Regions from separate parts of the Homo sapiens genome. Here all the other regions are linked to region 6. Evidence: promoter capture Hi-C in 16 types of primary human blood cells and fetal thymus (Javierre and others, 2016). All regions are on one chromosome and are shown on one strand. Each heading gives the region's core, a stretch centred on a gene start or on the middle of the fragment in contact. The rest is flanking DNA. Distances are from core to core; before and after follow the strand shown.

Region 1 (2,700 bases), core at 100-2,599, 5.7 Mb before region 6:
TGGGATAGGTAGAGCAGATTAGAAGAAATATATTCCGAGGCTCTCTAATAGTTTCTGGATGATTAACCTTCATGAAAATAACCTCACAGATAAGTAATTAGGATTTTTCAGCCCATTTCTATAAACTAAGTAAACTTTTTTTCTAGTGAACATAACTTGATATATTAGTGACTGTAGAAAGTCTTTCTACAGCAACAGGAATTATATCAAGGCTTTTGCAAATTCCTGGCAACTCCGGGCATGTTTAAGTTCTACTACTCATCTGTTCTGACTATATTTTCATCTGATGGAATAAGCAGTTCATCTCCTTTCCTAGAACTTTTAGTGCTCTACTGTCCCCCTCACTTTAGTTAAGGTCTGCCATGTCCTCCTCTCCGACAGTCCTTGACTTTCCCAATGGCATATTCATCTGCTCAAACAGATGTCACTGCAAAACAAAACAAACTTTTAACAAAAAGCAATGTTTGCATATTTGGGGCCTTTTGTATGACAATATTGCACGTTTCCTCAGAAAAATTCACGGAGATTCTTTAAGGTTGGGGGTTTAATCTATTGATATTTTCCTTAGGTAGACAAAGACAACCTCTAAGTGCGCTCAGTTAATCTTTAACCGCTACATCATCGTCACCCAGGCACTAAGACATAACTAGGGCATAATGAGTTTTATTTCCACCAGGGGCGCCTAGTAACTACCAGGTTCAACGCTCCCAGGTGGCCGACATGTGATGTGCTCTACTGTTTGGGCTGGGGATATTAGCTCAACAAACTCTGGCCACAAGGATCACGCGGATATTCTTGGGGATGCCTAGCGAAATGCGCTGTACCTAGGCCTCGAACTCTCGCCTGCTCTCCGGTGGGCGGTCTCGAACTCCAGCCTGCTCTCCGGCAGCCCACAGCAATGCGCCTGCCAAGACCTTAGGCTGCAAAACTCGCCACGGCCCAGAGCTCGCCTCCAAGTGCGCCCCGCACAGGGCAAGCTTTCGGCGAGGACTCGCGTCCCACCCATCTAGCCCTGGCCGCTGTCCCAACTCCCGCAGTTCACAGAGGCGGCGGCGGTGAGCGCAGCCGATGCCACATCCTCAGCGGCAAGCTGAAGAAACCTGTCTCCTCTCTGGGGCGACCAAACGATACGTCGATGCCGGAACCGACCCGACGCCGGAGCCGTCGGCTCCGTCCTTACCGTTGCTCTCCAGGTACACGCCCCCGTCAAAGGCGGCTCTGCGGCCCTCTCGCGAGAGAGTGCCCGTGGTACCTCCTTCCTCTCAGTTGTCTGTCTCTCCCCGCCCCCGGAGTGATTGCGCGGCTTCCTCCAGAGGGCGGGAACCTTGGACGTGGCGGGGCTGGGTCAGTCAGGGCGCTGGGCCCAGCCTCTCTGCAGGCTGGCCTTCCGCGCTGCCGTGAAGCCCCCGACAGGTCCCACGCCTGCCTAGGTAGACCGGCGCCAGCCCGAGTGACGCCTGGCGTGTGGCCGCGGGCAGGCGGCTCCGTGCGGCGGGGCGGGCGGGTGCCACACCTGTGCGGGCAAGGGCGGGGCGGGAAGGTGCGCAGGCGCGCTCGGGGCTGGTGGGCGGTGGCTCCTGGGAAGTTGCGCAGCCGAACTGGCCGGCTGGGCGCGCGCTCTTGCGGTGGCGTAATCTCTCAGCCTTTCTGTGTCTCCTTTCCTCCGCCTCAGTTTGGGGCGGGTCGGGGGAATGGCTGAGGAGATGGAGTCGTCGCTCGAGGCAAGCTTTTCGTCCAGCGGGGCAGTGTCAGGGGCCTCAGGGTTTTTGCCTCCTGCCCGCTCCCGCATCTTCAAGATAATCGTGATCGGCGACTCCAATGTGGGCAAGACATGCCTGACCTACCGCTTCTGCGCTGGCCGCTTCCCCGACCGCACCGAGGCCACGATAGGGGTGGATTTCCGAGAACGAGCGGTGGAGATTGATGGGGAGCGCATCAAGGTGAGCGGATGGGGAACTGTTGGGGAGGACAGGGTGACAGGTGTCCCAACCCCACCGTGGGCTGGTCGCTGGCCGTGTGCACGGTGTGTGTGCGCTCCATTTTTTTCTCACGCTGATGAGATTGGAGTTGGGGATTGGAAGGATTGCAATACTGCAAACTTCTAAGGCAGCGTTTCTCAGACTTCATTGTGCATGCGATTTACCTGGGGATCTTGTTTTTGAAAATGCAGGCTATGATTTAATAATCTCGCTGATGATGCAGGTGCAGCTAGTCCGTGGACCACACTTTGAGTTCAGGAGTGTAGGGCTTATCTACCGACCCATTTACTGTGTGTGTCGTGTGCTGGGAGTCAGTCAAATATGAACGGAGGAAAAACAGTGAAATTGCGCGAGAATGGAAAATTCATTTAATCAGTAATAGTTATTAAACATTCATTCGAGCAGTGCCTTAGATGTTGTGGAAGTAAAGCCTATTGCCTTTGAGGAAGTACTTAGGTATTCTCTTGCATACAGTTTTGCTGTAGTAGTTTCTTTATGATACTGATTTTAGAAAAATCTATTTTCCTGCAGAAACATTCTATATGTGATAGTTCCTACTCAGGTTGCCAAAAGCATTTCTCATGATGCCACCTCAGACACACGCCCAATTCTTTATTCCCTTTAAGTCGTTATTTTTGGTCCCTGGGACTGGGGACACTGAGTGACAGTAATAGTGGAGAAGGTAGTATAGGCCCCAGGGCAGGTTTGAAGTTCTGAGGGG
Region 2 (2,700 bases), core at 110-2,609, 5.9 Mb after region 6:
GAGTGGGACCCTGTCTCCCCTCCCAATCCCCAGCATATCCCCCAAAATATATATTTTGGGATAGAATATTTTATTTCTTTCAGGGCCCACTATCTGTCATGTTGGTATCTTCTTGCCACAAGAGTTGGCTTTGTCAGTCTTAAGGTCTCTGTCAATGTTAATGCTGGTCAGTTGCACCTGAATTCCAAGGGGAGGAGGGTATAATGAGGTATGTCTGACCCATCATGGCCTGAACTAGTGTTTTAGGTTTACTTTGGAATGCTCTTAGCTGACAGGAGGAGTCCGTTCAGTTGGTTGGGGGCTTAGAATTTTATTTTTGGTTTATATTCAGAATCTTTCACGCATTGTATTCCACAGTTTTACAGATGTATGAACTTTGCGATTAGCCAGTTAAGAAAAAAAAATTGGTCGGGCATGGTGGCTCACACCTGTAATCCCAGCACTTTGGGAGGCTGGGATGGGTGGATCACCTGAGGTCAGGAGTTCAAGACCAGCCTGGCCAACATGGTGAAACTCTGTCTCTACTAAAAATACAAAAAACTTATCTGGGCACGGTGGCGCACGCCTGTAGTCCCAGATACTTGGGAGCCTGAGGAATGAGAATCACTTAAACCCAGGTGGGAGGCTGCAGTAGGCAGAGTTTGCAGTAAGCACTGCACTCCACCCTGGGCAACAGAGTGAGACACTGTCTCAATAAAATAAAATAAAAAAGAAAAAGAAAAAAAATTCACTCTATACAATTGTTATTGATCTGTTGTAAATGGATTGTTAATCAACAAATGTTGGAAATAAGTTGTCTTTTTTGGTAAAAGGGTAAGGGTAAGAAGAATGGGAAAAAAAATGAAAGGAAGCAACTTTTTTTGAGCATCTACTTTATGCCAGATATTTTGCTATGCATTTAATTTTCACAAAAACCTTATAAGTAAGGGAGACAGATAATAATTGTTCCTAAATATCTGTTCTTCCCTTCTTGGAAAGTAACAGAATATTTGGTGGGCACATGGCTTTTCTGCTAAGTTCTATTATTACATTTCTCAGCCAGTCTCGTAGCTAGGGACACAGGAAAGTGACATGAGCAGAATGGATGTGTGTAACTTGTGGATGGTACTGTGTAAGGAAAGGAATGTGCCCTCCTCTTTGCTTCTCCCTCTCTCTGCTGGACTAAATGTTGACTTTTCTTTCTATTTTTTAGAGACAAGTCAACAAGGCTGGAGTGCAGTGGTACAATCACAGCTCCCTCCAGCCTTGAACTCTGGGGCTCAAGCAATCCTCCTGCCTTGGCCTCCCAAAGTGCTAGAATTACAGATATGAGCCACTGCACGCCCAGCGTAAATGTTGACTTTTCATTCCAGACCACATGGATGACAGCACAGTATGGATAGCAGAGTAATAAGACTGATGAAATCACTGACACCTAGGTAACCAACACTATGGGGCATACACATCATCAGCCCTGGACTGCATCCACTTGGACTGTCACATAAGTGAGAAATAACTTCTACCTTGTTTTTTTTTTTTTTTTCTGAGACAGAGTCTCGCCCTGTCATCCAGGCTGGAGTGCAACAGCGCGATCTCAGTTCACTGCAACCTCTGCCTCCTGGGTTCAAGCGATTCTCTTGCCTCAGCCTCCCGAGTAGCTGGGACTACAGGTGCCTGCCACCACACCCAGGCAATTTTTGTATTTTTAGTAGAGATGGGGTTTCACCATGTTGGCCAGGCTGGTCTCAAATTCCTGACCTCATGATCCGCCCTCCTCGGCCTCCCAAAGTGCTGGGATTACAGGCGTGAGCCACTGCACCTGGCCAACTTCTACTTTGTTTATGCCACTGTTATTTAAGTCTCTGTTACAGCTTCTGAACCAAGTTGTTGTGTAACTCCCTGTGCAATCTATGTGAGTGGCTCTCCTGGAATTGTCCAACATGGCAGCCTTGAACTGAACTAATATGGTAATGAGAAAACAAGTTCAGAAAGATTAAAAATTTTTCTGAAGTCAAACTGCTACGTGATAATAGCAAAGACATGGAATCAACCTAAATGCCCATCAATGGCAGACTGGATAAGGAAAATGTAGTATATACACACCATGGACTACTACGCAGCCATAAAAAAAGAACAAGATCATGTCTTTTTCAGGAACAAGAATGGAGCTTGAGGCCATTATCCATAGCAAACTAACACAGGAACAGAAAACCAAATACTACATTCTCGCTTATAAGTGTATAAGTGGGAGCTAAATAATGAGAACACATGGGCACAAAGAGGAGAACACAGACACTGGGGACTACTTGAGAATGGAGGGTGGAGGGTGGAAGGAAGGAGAGGATCAGAAAAAATAACTAGTGGGTACTAGGCTTAGCACCTTAGATAAAACAATCTATACAACAAACCCCCATGACATGAGTTTACCAATATAACAAACCTGCCCATGTACCCCGAACCTAAAGTAAATGTTTAAAACCAAAAATGACAACAAAAAAAACTATGTGATAAGGTGGGATTGAACCTAGACCTACATGATACCAAATAGTGATTGTACTAGATTCTAGCCCTGGATTTTCACTTCGTGAAATGTTGCTGACTAGAAGGAAAGTTCCAGCACTTGTGCTTTTACAGTACGAGCAGTGTTTTGTTTTGTTTTGTTTTGTTTTTTCTGAGAAGGAGTCTCTCTGTCACCCACACTGGAGTGCAGTGGTTTCAATT
Region 3 (2,700 bases), core at 138-2,637, 6.2 Mb before region 6:
GCTCACTGCAACCTCCACCTCCCAGGCTCAAGCAGTTCTCCTGTCTCAGCCTCCTGAGCAGCTGTGACTACAGGCACACGCCACTGTGCCGGGCTAATTTTTGTATTTAGTAGAGACAGGATTTCAACGTGTTGCCCGGGCTCGTCTCAAACTCCCCAGCTCTGGTGATCCACCTGCTTTGGCCTTCCAAAGTGCTGGGATTACAGGTGTGAGCCACTGCGCCCAGCCTATGAAGTGCTTTTTTAAAATGCAGATTCTTGGATCCTACTGTAGACCTATTAAGTCTGAGTCATTCATGATGGGCCCTGGATTCCACATAACCAAATGAAATGACAAAAAGAATAACTCCAGATTGTTCTTCTATGCCCTCAAATTTGGACATCTGGCACCCATATGTGAGAGAGACATTGAAGGGGCCAAAAGCTCCTCTCCACTCCTGAGCCTTGTGGTGGGGAGTAGTGAGTCCCGACAGCTGTCCACATTTGCTAATCAGTTCCTGCATAACTTATGCCCCTTGGCAATTGGTAGTTATTGGGAAGATAAGTACAGTCCCTTTGGAGTTATCAGATTCCAGGTTGTTAGAATTAAAAGGTGACCCTAGGGATGATCTCGGTGTTTGGCTTTCTTTTCTCAAGGATAGCAGCCCCCCTAAGAAGTAGCAGTTGCCACAGTTACTGTACTGGATGAAACGCAGTTGGAAGTCATCTGTGGATTTATAAATGCTATCCTCCACATCCCTCCTCCTCAGAGAATGAAGAGCTGGCTGAACTACTGTTCTCTACCATTAGAACATTTGCTTTTTTTCATGGTACAATTTATAGGCAAATGCCACCAGCTCATTTGAGAAGGCAGCTTTATTTAATATGTCCTTTAACTATGTGAGTAAACTGCTTATGAGAGAGAAGAAACGGGAAAGCTTGTCATTATCAAGCTGCTATGGAATAAATTGCTTTCCTTGTGGGAAAACTAATGTATGATTTTTCTGTTAGCATTCAATGGCAACAGTTTAAACATGGTGAACTGGGGTTCTTTGGGGTTAATAACCATGGCTCCAGATTCACATTCCACACACTTAACATTTGTAAATCATTTAACCTTGCTTGCTGTCTCAACACTAGACTTTACCTAGAACAAATGAATAAGATCAATTGATAGCAATTTATCCACAAGCTTTATTGAATAGTACATGTAAAAGGTGACATGACTAATTGCAGTGGGAGTTGAGAAGAAAGAAATCAGTGTGGCTGAATTTGTCAAGAAATGCTTTGCTTCTAATAGGTGAAAAAGGAGGGTGTTTTGGAAGGGGACAGTTTGCGGGGTGGTGGGGGCAGGCAGAGAAGACCACACACACAATGCCTGGAAGAAGGTGGCGCTCGCATGCAGGAGCTGTGGCAAGCATCTTAGGAAAAGGGGTAGAGGCAGAATCATTTGGGACAGTTGTTAAAATGCAGATTTCTGGCCTTTCAGCCCTCTGCTTGATCAGTTTCCTGTGGAGAAGCCCGGTGGAGTGCATATTTAACAAGTGCCTCAGGGGATTCTTCCAAAAAGATTAGGGAGTATTTATGAGCTCTGCCCCTCCTTTCCCCAAAGGTACTTATTCCTGGAAAGCTTGAGAAGCTCTGGAGAGGATTCTGGAAGAGCCTTAAGACCTTTGGTCTGGCCGGGCACAGTGGTTCACGCCTGTAATCCCAGCACTTTGGGAGGCCGAGGTGCGGATCACTTGAACTGAGGCATTCAAGACCAGCCTGGGCAACATGGTGAAACCCTGTCTCTACTTACATTAGAAAAAAAATAGCCAAGTGTGGTGGTGCACACCTGTACATCCCAGCTGCTTCGGAAACTGAGGCAGGAGAATCACTTGAACCCAGGAGGCGGAGGTATCAGTGAGCCGAGATTGCGCCATTGCACTCCAGCCTGGGCGACAGTAGGAGCAATACTCTGTCTCAAAAAAAAAAAAAAAAAAAGGATCTTTGAGCTTGGGGCCTAAGGCAGTTCAAGAGACCCCTGAGAAAGAACATTGACCCCCGAAAAAAGCAGCTTTAAAAAATTGTATATTTTGTCGAGACGGGTTTTGCCGTGTTGCCCAGGCTGGTCTCGAAATCCTGGGCTCAAGCAATCCTCCCGCCTCAGCCATCCAAAAGTGCTGAGATTACAGGCATGAGCCATCACGCCCCGCCAAAAGCAGCTTTTAAGAAAGGGAAGAAATTCCAGGGCCGGGCACAGTGGCTCAAGCCTGTAATCCCAGCACTTTGGGAGGCCAAGGCAGGCGGATCACCTGAGGTCGGGAGTTCGAGACCAGCCTGACCAACATGGAGAAACCCCATTTCTACTAAAAATACAAAATGAGCTGGGCGTGGTGGCACGCACCTGTAATCCCAGCTACTCTCAAAGAAAAAAAAAAGGGAAGAAATTTGCATATTAATGAAAGTTCAGTGAGAGGAAACTTGAGACTGAGGTTGTAATGGGAGTGTATCCATGTAGTCACTCTAAGTCACAACTTAGAGTAAAATGAGGTTTCTATGATGTTTACTAAAAGAAAAGTGAGGTAATTGTGTTCTGGCTTCTTGGAGTTAGGAAGGGAGATACAGCGTCTGTATTTGCTGTCAGGAGTCACTGGTGACTAATTACAGTTTTTCTGGTTTTTTTTTTTTTTAGACAGTTTTGCTCTTGTTGCCCAGGCTGGAGTGCAGTGGCGCAATC
Region 4 (2,700 bases), core at 156-2,655, 5.9 Mb before region 6:
CTCTCAGCAGTAATTAAGCTTCTTGTTAGAGAAAACCTTAAATTAAGAATGTATAAAATTCATTATAAGCAACATTATTCAAAAAGATGAGTTACTATTAAGTTGTAAGTGACTCAAAATCTCTCACCCCTTTCCAAGTCAAAAATCTGAACCACTTCAACAAGAAAATTTAAAATATCTTAGAGCTGGGGGACAGTGGAGGAAGTCCCAAACCCATTAGATAAAAAACAAAATTTTAAATATTAATATAGCAGATACTTTAACTTTAAAAAGAAATTTTATCCCAACAGAGGCAGTGTTTCACAGTCTTTTCTAGGATAGTGTGGCCTCTGAAGTCAGGAGAACTGGGTTCAGCAAACTAGTTTCTCCAAGTGTTTCTTATCTGTAACGGGTCAACAATAGTAGGTGCCACGTAGTGTTGTTGAAATGATTAAACGCAAGTTTATGTGTAAAGCATGTGGTGTGAATTTTTTTTTTTTTTTTTTTTTTTTTTTTTGAGACAGAGTCTCGCTGTATCTCCCAGGCTGGAGTGCGGTAGCACGATCTCGGCTCACTGCAAGCTCCACCTCCCGGGTTCACACCATTCTGCTGTCTCAGCCTCCTGAACAGCTGGGACTACAGGCGCCCTTCGCTACACCTGGCTAATTTTTTTTGTATTTTTGGTAGAGACGAGGTTTCACTGTGTTAGCCAGGATGGTCTGGATCTCTTGACCTCGTGATCCGCCCACCTTGGCCTCCCAAAGTGCTGGGATTACAGGTGTGAGCCACCACGTCCGGCCTGAAAATTTTTTTAAAAAGGTCGCTACACACTATGTACAATTTCCAACAATGTATTTATACAAACATTGATTAAAACCTAATGGAAGTCTACTGGGATTCAATTTGTACAACTTGCACACTGCTGGTTTGTCCTTACAGCATCTGAAAAAGGTACCTTCATAAAACTCCAATTAGCCTCAATTCTCATTAAGAAATAAAGTATAATTACTATTGCCGGGCGTGGTGGCTCACGCCTGTAATCAGAACACTTTGGGAGGCCGAGGCGGGCGGATCAATAGGTCAGGAGATCGAGACCATCCTGGCTAATACGGTGAAACCCCGTCTCTACCAACAATACAAAAATTAGCCGGGCGTGGTGGCGGGCGCCTGTAGTCCTAGCTACTTGGGAGGCTGAGGCAGGAGAATGGCGTGAACCCGCGAGGCAGAGCTTTCAGTGAGCCGAGATCACGCCACTGCACTCCAGCCTGGGAGACAGAGTGAGACTCCATCTCAAAAAAAAAAAAAAAAAGTATAATTACTATTTAGTAAAACTGCCATTCCTTACAAAACCATGTTAAGGAACAATAACAGAAATTTTAGTCCCATCATACTTTTTCAATGTTGCTGAAATCTTAATTTCTTTTTAGTCCTTGGGATTTCTCTTATGGAAAAATACGTATCAGCGATTATATAAATATCCTACTGTTATGAGAGTTTCACTGCCATACAACATATAACAGCACCATTCAATCTCGCAATGTTATGTCATTCCCTTACCACGCTGGTGTAGTCTCACGACATCCGGGAGTAAAGTACTTACATAGATCCACAAGAAGACAGTGGTGCCCAAGGTGAACCCAACTTTCAGCCAGTCAGGTTTGGCATTCGGCGGCTCTCGCACGTAGAACTTTGATCGCACTGAAGCTGAAAGGGGAAGAGGGTCTGTAAATTTGTAACTTACTGCCTTGTAGGGAAAAAACCCTAACATTTACGTGCGTATTATCGCATTTAATTCTCCCTTCAACTCCCCCATCTCCCACTTAAACAGCCAAGGAAATAGAGGTTCAAAGAGATCAAGTACCTCGCCCAGGGCCACTGGCGAGTTAGACAGGACGCACCTGTCCTGTCCGAGGCTTTCAAAGCCTCGTTTAAGGGCTTGCGGACCCTCAGACGACTCGGGAGTGGTCATGTAAGGGGCGCCCCGGGGAGGGTGTCTCCTCTCCCGGTTTACGGGACCTAACGTACAGAGGTGGGGAAGGCAAGGACCCAAAGTCCATTTACAAAGGCCAAGAGTGGTCAGGTTGAACTTGGATAAGTGCTAGAGGCGGGTGATGGGGAGCAGAGAGCCCTGCGTAGGGGACAGGCGTGGGCTGGGCCTTGGGTCGTCTGCCGGCGAAGGTCACTGCAGGACGAACCCGGGCCGCTGCCGCCTCCTGCACCCGTGGGCTGGGTCCGCCTTAGGAGGGGTAATCTGAGGGTCGAGTCGGCCTGCACGAGGAGGATACTCACGGCCGCTCGGGAGCCTGGCGGGGGCCAGCAGCCGGGAAAGGGGACGCAGCAAGGCGGACGGCGCCATCTTGCGTGGCCCAGCTCAGTCTCTCCGAGTTGGCAACAGAACCAGCGCCACCTGGCGGCCGGAAGTGCGGGACTCGAGGGCTCTGCAGCAGAGCTCCGTGGGGGCGTCAACGTGAATTCCAGCACGGCAAGGTTCTCTAGCACCCCGGCCTCAGCCTTCTGTCTATACAGTGGAATTAGGAAGAAAATAATTAAAAGAAAAAAGAGTTTACCTATTCTCTGTCCTCTGGGGGTTTTTCACCCCATCTCTACGGCTATTCATCAAGAGGTTTATTAAAATTTTCCTACATGAGCCAGAAGAAAGAAAAGTGTCGTGCTGAATAATAACTAGCATTTGGATTGAATTCTGTGGTCCAGGCACGGTGC
Region 5 (2,700 bases), core at 166-2,665, 9.4 Mb after region 6:
TTGTTTGAGACAGAGTTTCGCTCTTGTCGCCCAGGCTGGAGTGCCATGGCGCGATCTTGGCTCACTGCAACCTCAGCATCCCAGGTTCAAGCTATTCTCCTGCCTCAGCCTCTGGAGTAGCTGGGATTACAGGCGCCCGCCACCATGCCCGGCTAATTTTTGTATTTTTAGTAGAGACAGCGTTTCACCATGTTGGCCAGGCTGGTCTTGAACTCCTGACCTCAGGTGATCCGCCCGCCTCGGCCTCCCAAAGTGCTAGGATTACAGGCATGAGCCACTGAGCCCTGCCTTAAGGTCATGTTTTTACTTGAAGATACAGCATCTCTGAATTTAACTGTGAGTTTGGCCTAAGAATTGCTTTTCTGTAAAGGTGGCAGGTGATGGTATTTCCTTGCAAGAAAATACCATAATTGTAAAATATATACTTGATGAACTAAATAATATACTCACCTATTAATAATAACTATAGAAAATAACATGATTTGAAATGACAATAAAACCATAGAAACCTAAGCAAGACTAATATATATGGCAATATATTAATTGTCTAGTTGGATCTATTAACTTTTTACATATTTAATCATCCTGGAGACATTAATTTAATTTCTCAATAACAACATGGTAATGATTGAGGTAAATTGCCTCGAATTTGCTCCTTTTAAAACACTGTCGTGAATTTATAGAATGATGTCATCCCCTTGAAAGTTTACAATATTTTAGATAAATATAGAACTCAAGTGACCCTATTATTTAGTTCAGGGATTCATGAATTATGTATATTGTAGGAAAATTTTGTATTTATATGGGAATATGTTTTATTTTCTGGAGAAAGGATCCACAAGTTTAATTGGATTCCTGAAAGGCTCCGTCATACACACATGGCCTGGCTGACACCCGAAGCTGCCTTATTTGAACAGCAGGTGTCACCACTGCTCTTTGTACGGGCCCTCAGGGCTGTCCTTAAAGCAGACACGGCAAGTAACTTATTAATATAAATTATTAGTATTATGTCTGTGTAAAACCAAGAATACAAGTTTTAAGGAAAGCCCTCCTTCTTTAGGCAAGATTTTTTAAACTCACCAATACAGAAACTCTTTTTATTCTCCTTCAAATATTGTCCTTTGCTCTTGAACAGTGATAGGTCATATGAGTATAGATTTGAGTGCCATTTTCATCAGCTTTTTATGATATTTTTATAGGAAGTGTTTTCTGATTCTTATAAAATAATAAATATTACTATTTATTTTTCTGTTTCAACTTAGAGGGTTAAATATACAAGCTTTAAAAAACACTATATGCAATGTTCTTTAGAGTTGTGTGGCTCAGTATGTCCATCCCTTAAATTTCATATTTGAAATTGTTCGTTAATTCAAAAGGAAGTAATCATGGGAGTTATCACTGTTTATTTGAATTTCTGAGGTCAAAACCTGTGAAAAATGATACTTGGACATTTCTTCCAAAACTTTGGTCTTTAATTGTTTAGCACAATGCTATGAATTTGCCTAAATACTAAGGTAGTGTTAGCAGATACTTTCTTGTAGCATAGTTGAAACAAGCTTCTGGGACTATAAGGAACAGTGAAGGGGCTGTTCTTCCTGTTAATGCCTGGAAAGACTTTGGGAATAATTAGATTGTACTATCAGTTATAAACTGTCAGTTATAAATATCTTAGCAAGGTGTATGTGTGTGTGTGAGAGAGAGAGAGAGAGTCCTCGGGTCTTACTTATCACAATTTCACCATCCTCTACTACATGAAGCCCCATCTCATGTGTATTAGTTTGCTAGGGCTGATGTAACAAAGTACCACAAACTGGATGGCTTAGACAACAAATGTTTATTGTCTCACAGTTCTGGAGGCAAGAGGCTTGAAATAAAGGCGTTGGCAAAGTTGGTTCCTTCTAAGGGCTGTGAGAGAGAATGTGTTCTATGCCTCTCCCCTAACTTCCAGTAGTTCTCTGGCAGTCTTTGCCGTTTCTTGTCTTCTGCTGCATCACTGTCATGTCTGCCTTCATCTTCACATTTCGTTCTCACTGTGCATATGCCTATGCCAAATTTCTCCTTCTTAAAGAACATCAATCATATTGAATTAAAGGCCCACCCTACTCCAGTATGGCTTCATCTTAACTAATTCCATCCAAAAATACCCTATTTCCAAATAAGGTCACATTCTTAGATACTGGGGGTTAGGAATTCATAATGTGAATTTGGGGGGACACAGTTCAACCCACAACACTATATCACAAAATAAGTGACAATATTGAACATAATCATGACTTTTGTTGTTTACCTTTACAAATAAGAATTTGTACTTACAAATATTTGCAGGCATTTACAAATGTTTTTATTTTACAGAAATATTTTTGGTGTTTATACTGCCACAGAAGAAATAACAATGTCTTGGTTCCAGCTTTCTTAGCTGAATGTTTTGTTGTAATATTTGTTTAAATATCTGTATTTCCCAGTAGACTTATGGGGTGAATATGGCATGATGTTTACTATCACACAGTCAGAATCTAATTGACTTGCAACTGGTAAGTTTTCAATATTTATTGAATGAATGAATAAGTAAGCTATTATATTGTACACTTAAATATGGGTTTAGGTGGCTTTGAGAGCTTAATTTTTTTTGAGACGGAGTCTGGCTCTGCCGGCCAGGTTGAAGTGCAGTGGCACCATCTCAGCTCACTGCAATCTCTGCCT
Region 6 (2,700 bases), core at 20-2,519:
AAGTGACATGGGCGAGCTTGCCTACCCTACATTCCAAAGTCCAGCAGCAAACCAAAATATGTTCCACAAGTAAAGTTTGATCCACCACTTCTAGTAAACACTTGGTTTACTGGAGTGGGGTGAGCGTGGTGCTTCTCAAACGAAGGGAAGGAAGGTGAATGCGGAACAAAAGTAAAAAATATCATGTCGCCAGGTCCCCAGCAATAAATCAACTGTACAAGCTCCGAGCAGGCCTCACAAGTTGTCCTCAACTCATTACCTCTTCATCAGGAGAGAGACACCCCGTTAATTTGCGGGCTTTCGAGTTTCAATTTGCACCTTTCAGACGCAAAGCAGCGTCCCACTCCGGCGTTACAATGGGGCGCTGTGACGACAGCCAGGGCACGCGCAGCCCCGGCCGTGGGCGGCCCGGACAGCCCGCAGCTGCCTCCCCACCCAGACCCGCCGGGCCGTCCCCGCCTCCCCTCGAAGCCCTCCCCGCCCCCCCGCAATTACCTGCTCCGCCACGGCCCGGAACAGGCACGACCCGTCCTTGGCGACCAGTTTCCGATACAAGCCCAGTTTCCGCAGATAGGCGTCCATGGGCGTCGCGTCCTCGCGGGGCCCCGCGCCGCCCTGGTCCCCGCCGTCGGGGACGCCGACGGCAGCCTCCATGTTGCTGGTCCTGCTGCAGGCCAGGCGCGGCGAGGGCTAGCCCCACATGGCCAGGCCGCCGGCTGCTCGACGCCCCGGCCTGGGGCAGGCGGCGGCTCGGGCTGGGGCTCGGGCTCCGCGAGCGGCGGCAGGCGGCGGCGGCCCGAGGCAGCGGTCCGCGCTCTCCGGGCGCATAGGGAAGCCCTGCCTAATGCATGGCTGTCCGCACGCGGCCGCCTCCTCGGAGCGAACACGCGCCCACGACAAACGGGGGGAGCGGGATTAAGGAAAACCCCGAGAGTGAGTAGTCACTTCCCGACGGCCTCGCTGCCTGACTCAGGACCCAGGCCGGGGGTCGCCGCCCCCACAAGTTTCCTCCTCCGTACCGGTGTGAAGCGAGAAAACCCCCGCCCCTGGCGCGCACGCTGGGCCGGCTCAGGTGAAGCGGGGCCTGCGCCCCCGCGCACTCCCCACGCCGGGAGCCGAGGAAACCAAAAAGAAAGACGCGGCCTTTCGTTTCCCCACCTCGCTGGAGGGCGCCGGAGGGGCAGGGAGCGGGTGGGGGCGCCCGGGAGAGAACAGCACCTCGCAGCCCAGAATTTGTTTTCGCTTTCGGCCCGACAGCGGAGAGGACGGCGGGAGATGTAGTCTTGGCAGCCGCAGGAAGTCGGCTTGCGGCGGGCGGGGACGCGCTGGCCGGCCTACCCGGGGGAGGTGCCCGGGAGGCGCGCGGACTACAAGTCCCTACAGCGCGGGCGCGCCGCCGCCACCGCCACCGCCCCAAGCCGGCTTCGCGCTGCACTGGCGCCGCGTCCGCGAGCAGGCCGAGGGGCTCCGCCGGCCGATGTGGGGCGACCTGCGCGCGCCACCCGCCAACCCTGCCGCTGCGCCGCGGGAATCGCGCGCGCCGGGCTGGCGTGGAGTTGCCAGGGACACGGCGGCGCAGTGTCGGCCCTTTGTGTATTTCTTTCCAGAGGGCGCACCTGTCTGCTCCCTTCCCCCCGGCCTGCTCTCCTGGTGTTTCCATGGAGGTGGCTTTAACGGCTTAAGCAGAAAATAGAGCTAATTGGCTGAGGCTCCGGGAACTGGCACGGTGCGGGACGACACACTCTGTCCATAAATCAACCGTGGACTGCTGATTGCTATTAGTAGTACAGCTCACGTACTACGGCAAGATGAAGGCTTTGCCAAAGACATTTTTGTTCACCCTGTCACTGTAGCTGAGCACCCCATCACAGAGACATGTCACTGTCGGAAGACGTTAGGGTTTTTTTTTCCCCCTTAAAAAATTCATCTTGTAAATTGCTTGATAACATGCTGACTGGACTGGCCATGGCTTCCACCAGTGCTCGAGGCTTCAGCTCAACTTCCCACCCTCCGACGTTGAATGGCAGGGAATTGACAAAGTTAAATTATGCTTTAGAACCCAGAATTTATCCAGCATGCTTCTGTTGCACCAAAATTTTATTTTGCTAAGATACAACATCTGGTGTCCTTATTTAAATACATGGTTAATCATAGGAACTAATTCAGTCTTTTAGGCTATGGTGGAGGAGAGGGAGAAGAAAAGGGAGCATTACTATAGGTTTAGACATGTAGTCAAATACCTTGGAATGGGGGGCAAGGCAGGCCAGGTGGTGAGAGTCCAACGACAAAAATTTTTTAAAAACTACGTTAGACACTTTTCAGTATTTTCAGTGCAAGCAATCAGTCATGTATTCACTTTCCTTGGAGCGTCTTTGATTTCTTAATGTTTAAATATTGTATCTCAAATTATGCTGCTTTTAGAGAATACAAACGTTATCGTTACCTAAATGAAAAAATGTCCCTGCCTCAAATTTACTTGTTGTAGCGAAGAAACACTTTGAAATCAGGTTTAGAAAAGTATAGTTTCAGCTGGGCGTGGTGGCTCACGCCTGTAATCCCAGCACTTTGGGAGGCCGAGGCAGCCCGGTCACCTGAGGTCAGGAGTTCGAGACCAGCCTGACCAACATGGAGAAACCCCGTCTCTACTAAAAATACAAAATTAGTCGGGCGTGGTGGCACATGCTACTCGGGAGGCTACTC
Region 7 (2,700 bases), core at 29-2,528, 6.1 Mb before region 6:
TAAAAGTAGTCTGACAGGTATCATTTTCTAGTTACCACTGGTAGTGGCTATTGCTGGTCAATCCCCCTTGAAATAAATTTCAAGAACTGTTTTACTTTTTATTACAGTACCAAAAATAATATTTGCTTGTACCTTCATTTAATATTGGTAAATATCTTCTTGTTCCATTTCTATCTTTCTAATCAACCGGTGTTTGTATGGTACTGAAGACTATTCCAGACTCACTCAACAGCTGTTACAAAATACCAAACTTGGTAATTAAGTCTGACAAGAGGCATACCTCTCAGCTTTGCATAAAAGAATGCTGGCAATGGATCTAGTTCATAAAAATGTTCTCAAGTCAAAAATAAAATTTAGTAGCAATTTAGTTTGAGAGCAGTGAAAAAAAATTAGAAAACACTTCATTAGGTGATAGTGGTATTCTCCTATAAGCAACACTATAAACTAATAGTACAAGGTCTTCAGTCAACTGCAGCACCCGATTTACCACTACTTATCCTCTAATGCCCCAAAGCTATACCAGTAATAGGTAAATGAAGAATACAAATGAAGGCAATAAAAAGGGGGAAAAGGTAATTAAAGGTCTGGAATACTCCATCTTCACCTTTTCCCCCTTGACCTTTTAATCAATATACTTGCATTATAAAGTATAAAAAGGAAAAAGAATGGCAATTCTTTTTTTTTTTTTTTTACACTCTCGGAGGGGGAGAGCGAACTGCCCTCTGCAAGATGAGATCAGCCAGAAATTAAGTTTAAATTAATTAAAATTAAAAATTGAGTTTCTTAGCTACATTTTAAGTACTCAGATACATGCGGCTAGTGGCTACCATACAGTACAGACCTAAACAACACTGTAATTCAGCTATCCTCCGACCTTTTTTATCTGAGGACACTTTTACACTCAAAATACTGAAGACCTCGAGATTTTATCTGTATTTATCATATTTGAAATTACAAAGAAAACTTCAAAATTATTAATTCATTTAAAATAATACACCCATTACTGCAACCATAAATAACATTTTTTATGAAAAATAACTGTTTTTTGAGACAAGGTCTCGCTTTGTTGCTCAGGTTGGAATGCAGTGGCATGATCATGGTTCACTGTAGCTTAGATCTCCTGGGGTGTGATCCTCCTACCTCAGCGTCTCAAGTAGATGAGACCACAGGCACGCATCAGCACACCCAGCTAATTTTTTGATTTTTTTTTTTAGAGACGAGGGTCTCACTATGTTGTCCAGGCTGGTCTCAAACTCCCAGACTCAAGAGATCCTCCTGCCTTGGCCTCCCAAAGTGCTGGGATTACAGGCATAAATCACCATGCCTGGCCAAAAATAACTTAAAATAAAAAACAAAAAGTAAGTAGCTTTGTTTTTTACATTTTTGCAAATCTTATTATACTTGATTCAATAGAAGGCAGCTGAATTCTCCTTCCTCTTTCAATCTATTGGAATAACCCATCTATACATAGCTCCTAACTCCTCTGTACACTTTTGAAAGTGACAAGGCAAATAATGTCCCAGTATTATTTTCAAAACAGTTTTGTCTTTACAGATCCTGTGAAAGGCTCTTGGGACTCCCAGAATCCGGGTCAGAGAGTTTGGTTTTTGAGAAGCGCAGCTGTAATTCATCAACTGTAATTAATAACAACCAAATTCTATCCCCATGCTTATATAAGTTTTAGCTTCTAAACATAAACATCAGGGTGTAGATGACAAATTATGATTCTAGCCTAGGAGCTGTGGCTCACACCTATAATCTCAGCACTTTGGGAGGCCAAGGCAGGTGGATCACCTGAGGTCAGGATTTCAAGACCAGCCTGGCCAACATGGTAAAACCCCATTTCTACTAAAAATACAAAAATTAGCCAGGAGTGGTGGCTCACGCCTGTAATCCCAGCTACTTGGGAGGCTGAAGTGGGAGAATCACTTGAACCTGGGAGGCAGAAGTGAGCCAAGATTGTGCCACTGCACTCCAGGCTGGGCGACAGAGGGAGACTCCATCTCAAAAAATAAAATAAATGTAAAAAAAATAAAAATTATGATTCTGTAAGTAAAACAGTATTTGTCTACTCACAGATAAATGGTTTTTAAAAAGCTCTTCTTAAGCATTTCTTTGCATCCTTTTGAACATTTTGCTATAGATGACACAAGGAATCATTTTAAACAATTATCAAACATGAGGAATTATTTTAAATAGTTATCAAGAACATTCTGCTGCCTGCCCTTCTCCACCAACCAAATTTGTTTCTAAAATAGTTTTATGTTGAATGATTCTGATTGGCTATTTACACACTGACTGATGTGACCATGTAACTCAGTTTTTACATGAATTTTAGTACCAATGCTGCAATGAATTGTGAAGGGTAATTTCTTAAATTCATTTTCAAATGAGCTTTTTAAAAAGAAAACTAGTGTCATTCCTTGAGTTTCATTTTAATGTATCTATTCACATACTGCTTTTAACTTCTTTTCATACTGCTAATTTTTTTTCAATTTGATCTTTTCAAGATTGAGACTACATATTCCAATTTATAGTAAATCAGAAATGAGATTTTCAATTTCATAATGAACTTTAATAAAATAGATTTGTTTTCTGTCAGTGAAAATATTTAGGCTAAATTTCCAGAAAAATTTCACCTTCATTTAATAACTGCATTGTTGACCAAAACTTCTGATTACCTTATTTCGCAAATGTAAA

The links. Contacts are between HindIII fragments. The CHiCAGO score rates a contact against its expected background, and 5 or more counts as called.
Region 1: a fragment that was not itself captured here is called in contact with the fragment with the promoter of OTUD4 in region 6 in 2 of 17 cell types (non-activated CD4 T cells and naive CD4 T cells); the score reaches 12.3 in non-activated CD4 T cells.
Region 2: a fragment that was not itself captured here is called in contact with the fragment with the promoter of OTUD4 in region 6 in 1 of 17 cell types (neutrophils); the score reaches 5.9 in neutrophils.
Region 3: a fragment that was not itself captured here is called in contact with the fragment with the promoter of OTUD4 in region 6 in 1 of 17 cell types (activated CD4 T cells); the score reaches 5.0 in activated CD4 T cells.
Region 4: a contact is called between a fragment that was not itself captured here and the fragment with the promoter of OTUD4 in region 6, in 1 of 17 cell types (non-activated CD4 T cells). The highest score is 6.2, in non-activated CD4 T cells.
Region 5: a fragment that was not itself captured here is called in contact with the fragment with the promoter of OTUD4 in region 6 in 1 of 17 cell types (total CD4 T cells); the score reaches 5.3 in total CD4 T cells.
Region 7: a contact is called between a fragment that was not itself captured here and the fragment with the promoter of OTUD4 in region 6, in 2 of 17 cell types (total CD4 T cells and naive CD4 T cells). The highest score is 9.8, in total CD4 T cells.

What each region holds. Positions count from the first base shown.
Region 1 is chr4:139,452,505-139,455,204 of GRCh38, forward strand. It overlaps RAB33B (RAB33B, member RAS oncogene family), which reads left to right and starts at 1,617. Exons shown (of 2, transcript NM_031296.3): 1 at 1,617-1,940. The coding sequence starts at 1,692. RAB33B-AS1 (RAB33B antisense RNA 1) reads right to left here and starts at 1,537. Exons shown (of 1, transcript NR_159964.1): 1 at 1-1,537. RefSeq lists enhancers at 905-1,244, 1,865-1,914 and a silencer at 1,315-1,644. The HindIII fragment of the contact is 749 bases long and covers 976-1,724 here.
Region 2 is chr4:151,093,217-151,095,916 of GRCh38, forward strand. No RefSeq gene overlaps it. Among named protein-coding and RNA genes, the nearest start is that of RPS3A, 5.1 kb to the right of the region's middle. The HindIII fragment of the contact is 5,246 bases long and covers 1-2,700 here.
Region 3 is chr4:139,019,126-139,021,825 of GRCh38, forward strand. All of the region lies in intron 1 of NOCT (nocturnin), which reads left to right. Among named protein-coding and RNA genes, the nearest start is that of NOCT, 4.7 kb to the left of the region's middle. The HindIII fragment of the contact is 438 bases long and covers 1,169-1,606 here.
Region 4 is chr4:139,293,464-139,296,163 of GRCh38, forward strand. It overlaps NDUFC1 (NADH:ubiquinone oxidoreductase subunit C1), which reads right to left. Exons shown (of 6, transcript NM_001184989.2): 3 at 2,269-2,497; 4 at 1,580-1,683. The coding sequence starts at 2,335. Among named protein-coding and RNA genes, the nearest start is that of NAA15, 6.7 kb to the right of the region's middle. RefSeq lists an enhancer at 2,128-2,691. The HindIII fragment of the contact is 2,778 bases long and covers 17-2,700 here.
Region 5 is chr4:154,551,374-154,554,073 of GRCh38, forward strand. No RefSeq gene overlaps it. Among named protein-coding and RNA genes, the nearest start is that of PLRG1, 2.3 kb to the left of the region's middle. RefSeq lists an enhancer at 744-1,038. The HindIII fragment of the contact is 277 bases long and covers 1,278-1,554 here.
Region 6 is chr4:145,179,320-145,182,019 of GRCh38, forward strand. It overlaps OTUD4 (OTU deubiquitinase 4), which reads right to left and starts at 1,270. Exons shown (of 21, transcript NM_001366057.1): 1 at 496-1,270. The coding sequence starts at 654. RefSeq lists enhancers at 372-1,201, 1,202-2,031 and silencers at 377-836, 957-1,186, 1,277-1,676. The HindIII fragment of the contact is 3,984 bases long and covers 1-2,700 here.
Region 7 is chr4:139,077,900-139,080,599 of GRCh38, forward strand. All of the region lies in intron 4 of ELF2 (E74 like ETS transcription factor 2), which reads right to left. Among named protein-coding and RNA genes, the nearest start is that of NOCT, 63 kb to the left of the region's middle. The HindIII fragment of the contact is 4,123 bases long and covers 1-2,700 here.